Linked DNA regions of Homo sapiens: region 1 is linked to region 2. Evidence: promoter capture Hi-C in human tissues and cell types (Jung and others, 2019). All regions are on one chromosome and are shown on one strand. Each heading gives the region's core, a stretch centred on a gene start or on the middle of the fragment in contact. The rest is flanking DNA. Distances are from core to core; before and after follow the strand shown.

Region 1 (2,712 bases), core at 177-2,676, 130 kb before region 2:
CTCAGCCTCTTTAAACTCTCTTTGCTCATGATGTCTCCTGACTTCCCTCAGAGAATTTGGAAAGCACTTCTCAAGATATATCCTTATGATTAGGCTCAATTGCAAGCAACAAAGATTCTAAACATGGTGGCTTAAACAGAGTAGTGGTGTTTGTTCTTTTTGTTCCCGGAGAAGTCAGATGTAGGCAGCACAGAGCTGATGTGGATCTTGGATTCACAGTCATCTCTTTGCAGACCACTTCTGGCCTCTGCTTCACATCTTCATGGTCCAAGATAGTAGGCTTATGATTCCAGGCAGCTGGCTGGAGGAAATGACAGAAAAGAAAGTCTCCCAGAAGGTGCTGAGGACCCATTCACATCCCACTAGCCATGATGTACAGTCACATGGCCACATACAGCTGCACAGCCTGCTGGAAAATGTAGTTTTACTTCCAGGAGGCCATGGGCTCAGCTAAGAGCTCTATGACATGAAGTAGAGGGAGAACGACTATGAAGTTAAGCAATTGGTGATTACTGCTCTATCAGTTCAATCCTCTACTTTATAAGTAATTAAAATGAGGTGGTAGGATGATTATAATAAGATCATTGGTTAAGGTTGTAATGCCCAAGAGATTTTCCCCAATACCCAACATAAGGCTTGACTTAGACAAAAACAAAAAGATAAGCCCTTGTCTTCCCAGTGGGAAGGGAGATATGCCAGCCAACATTAACATGATAAATGATGTGACAAAACTAAGTGCAAAATAGAATGGGAATAACAACACAGAGCACCCAAATCTCTCTGTGAGGGTCCAAGGGGTCACTGAGAGAGAGTGCTTTGCAGCTGAGGCTGGATTAGTGTGAGAATTGGTGTCTGTTGAGTGGACAAGAATGGGGAAAGATAAGTCTGGCAAAAGGAACAGTGTGTGCAAAGGCCCAGAGGCAGGATAGTGGACCATTTTTGGAAGCTAAAAAGAGGTGCAATATTGCCAGAACATACAGGGCAAAGGGGGTGTGATGGTTAATTTCACGTGTTCACTTGGAAGGTGTTTTCAGATAAGATTAACATTTAACTTGTTGAACTTTGGGTAAAGCAGAGTGCCCCCAAGGCTTCAACATACATGCATATCCTATCGGTTCTGTTTATCTGGAGAAGCCTGACTAATGCAGGAGATGAGGTTGGACAGATAGGCAGGGACCAAATCCTGAATGGCCTATGTGCCATTCAAGGCCATTTCCATCTTACACCATAGAAAAGGGGGATTCATTGGAGACTTCTGAGCAAGATAGGGGTCAGACTTGGATGTAAATCATGGCTTAGGGGTGTGGTGGGGACTATGATAGACCAACATGTACTGTTCGTCTACCGTACGTGATAAGCACTGTTCTAGAAGCTTTAGAGGAGAGTGGTCAAGGCCAGTGGCAGGGAGACAGAAGATAACTGGATGTGCTAGTGGAAAGGTAGCAGAGGCAAAGGAGACTCCCAGGTTTCCAACTTTCACAGCTCCACAAGGACAGAGCCTGACTCTCTTGCCCATCCCTGCACCCCCGGCACTAGCACAGTGTCTGGGACTAGGCCTGCATAATTCTTTTTGGAATCCAGAATGAATAGCTAAAGAGATAAAGACTCTAACAAAGAAGGGTTGTAGGTCCAGCGTAACATTGTAAACAAATGGGTTCTCACTTCAATTCAAACACTTGTTGACTAACTGAATGAAGGGCCCAAGGATGTGAGATGCAGCCATGCCACCCGCATTGGCCCTATATGCCCTCCAATCTGATGAAGGTGCTACCAGGAAAGCAGAGGTGGAGGGTAACATTCAGATTTCAGAGAATGCTGCATTTCTGCTTTTCCTCCAAAACATCCTTTCTCCACTGAGGGATGTATGAAACTCCACTGTTTAGAGCTTAACATCCTTAATCCTGACGTCCTAGTAAAGGCAAAATCCCATAGGCGAGGATCCCCCTCTACAGCCTAAGAAGACATTCACACCCAAGTGTTGACGGTGGCTCTCAGCGCAGGAATGGGTGAGGAGGAGAGAAGTAGGAGTGGGACATATCTGAGGGGAAACAGAGGAGATGAAGGGAGGCTGAGAGCCGCTGAGGCCAGCCTCATCCCTTGATAGTTTTGCAGAAGTTGAGCTGTCTTTGGAGAGGGAGAGGAGGACTGAGAGCAGCAGGCTGGAGTCCATCAAAATCTTTGCTGCTTCCTTGAAGAGGACCCAAATGCTAAGGATTGGAAGATTAATCCAGTGACTAAACTTGGTGGCAGGCTCTTACTGTTGACACATGGGGACCTTTTCATACCACATTTTAAATATATTTCTGCCCAGAAGAGGCAGTTGACAGGCTTGGAGAGACCTAATGGAAAACAGCAGCTAATACTGCAAGTCAGCAAAGCTTGTCAACCTGGACGACATCATCCCTCACCTCCTCTTTCATTTTTATAGGAATGGCTCAGAAACAGAGAAGAGAAATTTCAAAAGCCAAACAAAAAATCAATACTGTAGGAGATAACCCAGCATTAATATGAAAACCAGAGAGGGCTTCTTTGTCTCAAGCCTCAGCAGCACTATCAATCACACTTCTTGGATAGATTTGGGAGGCTACTTTTGCTCACAGCAGGCAGGATCCGTTTTAGTTAAAATGCCTGTGGAGAGTGGGATTTAGGTAGAGTGAAGCCTGATTCAGGGCGTAGGGGGATGCATCGTCCCCCCCTCCCAGGTGGCCCCTC
Region 2 (2,713 bases), core at 89-2,588:
AAAATAGACACAACTCCTGAGCAACAAGCCCCTCACGTTTCTGTTCAATTGACTTTCCTTGGGTTTATTAACCTTTGATGAAGGTTAAGATTTCACATTTTTGCTCTTGTATTTAGGAGTGGTATGTTGTTGGTGCTATGACACAATCTGGGTGGGCTTTCAGCTTGGTAGATGTTTTTCCATCATTTCCACAATGCTAGGACTGTTTCACTAGGCAGCAATTGAAAATTCAGCTATGGTAGTAAAGGAAAAACTTAAAGGATTTCCCAGCCCCACCCCAGCCGGCATCCTTCTTAGAACATACTCCAAATAAGTGGTTTCTTTCCTTTCCGATAAACTAGCCAGTGGTCGTTTTGACTCTTAACAGCTGGTCAATTGGGACGCACTATATTGACACTTCATTAATACACTAGGGTGCGCCTCATTTAGGGAAACTGTGAGGAAATGTTTTCTCATCCTAGTCTTTATTTTAGGGGAGGAGATCATGCTTCTACATGTTTTCCTGATTAAATTTATTTATTTCTCCAGGAAAATTGGCAACTTGCTGAAGGACTCTTCCATGTGGGGGACCTCCCTGCTTCCCTGCCCCACCCTTTCCTTGTGTAGAGGTAGCCTTACGGATCTTGTAAAATGGGTTAGAGGACGATTCTGAATGAAGTTTGATAAATCGATGTGCATATGCACATATTGGGGTCCTCACCTAATTGTACACTCCATAAAATAGAGAAGGCTGCAGTGACTCTGCATCTTGTCCTATAAAGCAAATGTATATGCAAAAGTCGGGGCACTCCAAGTTTTCTGATTGGGCACCCTATGTGGAAACTTCTCTCCTTTTTCTCATTTCATAGCGTTTCAAAGGAGTCACTGAAGCTAATTTATTCTCCAGCTGACTGTGGATTCTGTCTTCAGACACAGAGCAGCTTTGCATCCTGTACCAGAGGGATCATTCATGAAGGAGGGTGACTCAGAAATGAGGGGAGGAGACAATAACGGTCAGGGATATAGTTAATTTGGAGGCGTCCTTCTAGAATCCGGGGCCTCCAGGATCTAGGTCCCGGGATGCAGGCAGACTGTTCGCTTTCCACTCCTAAATCAGATCTGCGGCTCCAGCACCATTGCTGCAGTTTACTCCGGGGCTGAGGAGGTTGTTGTCAATTGCGAGTTGGTTAGGTTGGTAGCTTTCGTGCCTGCTGAGAAAGGATCTCTCTGTTGCTCGCGCTGGCTTTCGCTCTCCCCCTCCCTCCCTGTAACATGCCAGCCCTTTAATGTGGAGTGTCAGGGAGACGGTGACGTCACCCTGCCCGCTGGGTGGCGTCCCCTCGGTCCGACACGAGTTCAGAGACAGACGCTGTCAGACTGCGCTCCACTTGGGGCTCTCCTGCCGCGGGTTTCTGCGTACCCACACTTTCTGCGGTGGAGGGGACGCCCCGCCGCAATTCAGGCCGTCATTCTCCCCAGGCCGGGGTTTGAGCGCCATTCGCTCGGGCCAGAGCCCGGATCTTCGCGCGGAGCCCGCCAGAGTCCCGCCCGCTGGATACGAGGACCCGCTTGGATGCTTCGCCTCCGAGCGCCCTCGGAAGATGGGCCGGCAGCCACACGCCTAAAGACACCCAGAGGTTACCAGGTATTGCCGGAACCGGCCGCCCCAATCCGGCACACAGCTTGCTGGGCACCTATTTGAGATCCCCAGCGGTAGGATTTTCCGCGTTAGGTTGAGGGGCAGCGGTGGGCTTCCGTGGTGACTGGTTTGGGAGTCGGGAGAACTAAGTTGGGGGTGGGGGGGTCTTTGGCTGTTGGGCAGGATAGGGAAGTTCACCAGGTTCCTTTCTCAGTTCAACTAACTTTTAATTGTCTCTTCTCCCCTCCCCACCCACCCAAAAAATAATGCCCCAACCAAAACCTTGTGTCTGCTCTGACGGCAGTTTCTGGGAGGGCTTGGGGTAAAAGTGAGGAGACACTTCTGCCTGGTCTACTGCTGCTAAGGCTGCGAGTCCTTAACGCAGAGCCAGCTTCCCGCCCCGGCTGGCCAGCCGCGCGCCTTGCTGGGGAGCGAGAGTTGGAATTATCCCAGGGTCTTATTAAGCGGATATGAATCTTGTTTGGTAGGGAAATGAGCATCGAAGGGCCACCTGACGAAGCTAGTGTTGGTTGTATCAGACTCGGGTGTCACTGCGCCTTGAACTGCCATGTAACGCCCTGTCCCCTGGAAATATTGTCTCTGATCCACCCAAAGTGACAAGCAGGCTTTCCTCTCCTTTGATCGCGTCGAGGTTTGTTCAAGCTTCCTGGAGGCCGCCAAATGTAATGAGAACTGAGGATCCAGGGGGCAGCAGGACAGAGGCTGCTGTATAGATGCCACAGGGGCCCAGAGAGAGGACACGGATAAGAAATTGGGTGAGGGAGTAAGATCGTGTACCCTCTGAAAGCACTGTAATAGCGAACTCGCTGTACGTGGCCGAAAGGGGCCACGCTATGGCCTCTGGTGATTTTTCAGGGCAAAGCATGCCTTGGCCAATGCGCTTGAGATGTAGCTGTGGAAAGATCAGTGTTTGTTTTCCTAGGGAGTGAGCCACTTTCCTTCTTTCCACTTAGTGGCATTGTCACTAAAATTTCTTTCCGCTTCCTTGTTCTGTATTTTCAACTTACTGAATATTTTCCCTCATTGTGGCATTCTGTTGACTGGAGGTGAAGTTAGAAATTTTACCACAGACCC

The links. The method cuts DNA at HindIII sites, captures the fragments that hold promoters and counts their contacts. A contact is called where the count stands out against the background at its distance.
Region 1: a fragment that was not itself captured here is called in contact with the fragment with the promoter of SKOR2 in region 2 in 3 of the 25 tissues and cell types used here (liver, spleen and thymus).

Annotation. Positions count from the first base shown.
Region 1 is chr18:47,378,028-47,380,739 of GRCh38, reverse strand. All of the region lies in intron 1 of MIR4527HG (MIR4527 host gene), which reads right to left. It overlaps MIR4527 (microRNA 4527), which reads right to left and starts at 244; the gene lies at 175-244. The HindIII fragment of the contact is 4,464 bases long and covers 1-2,712 here.
Region 2 is chr18:47,250,285-47,252,997 of GRCh38, reverse strand. It overlaps SKOR2 (SKI family transcriptional corepressor 2), which reads left to right and starts at 1,338. Exons shown (of 9, transcript NM_001278063.4): 1 at 1,338-1,624. RefSeq lists an enhancer at 954-1,470. The HindIII fragment of the contact is 10,120 bases long and covers 1-2,713 here.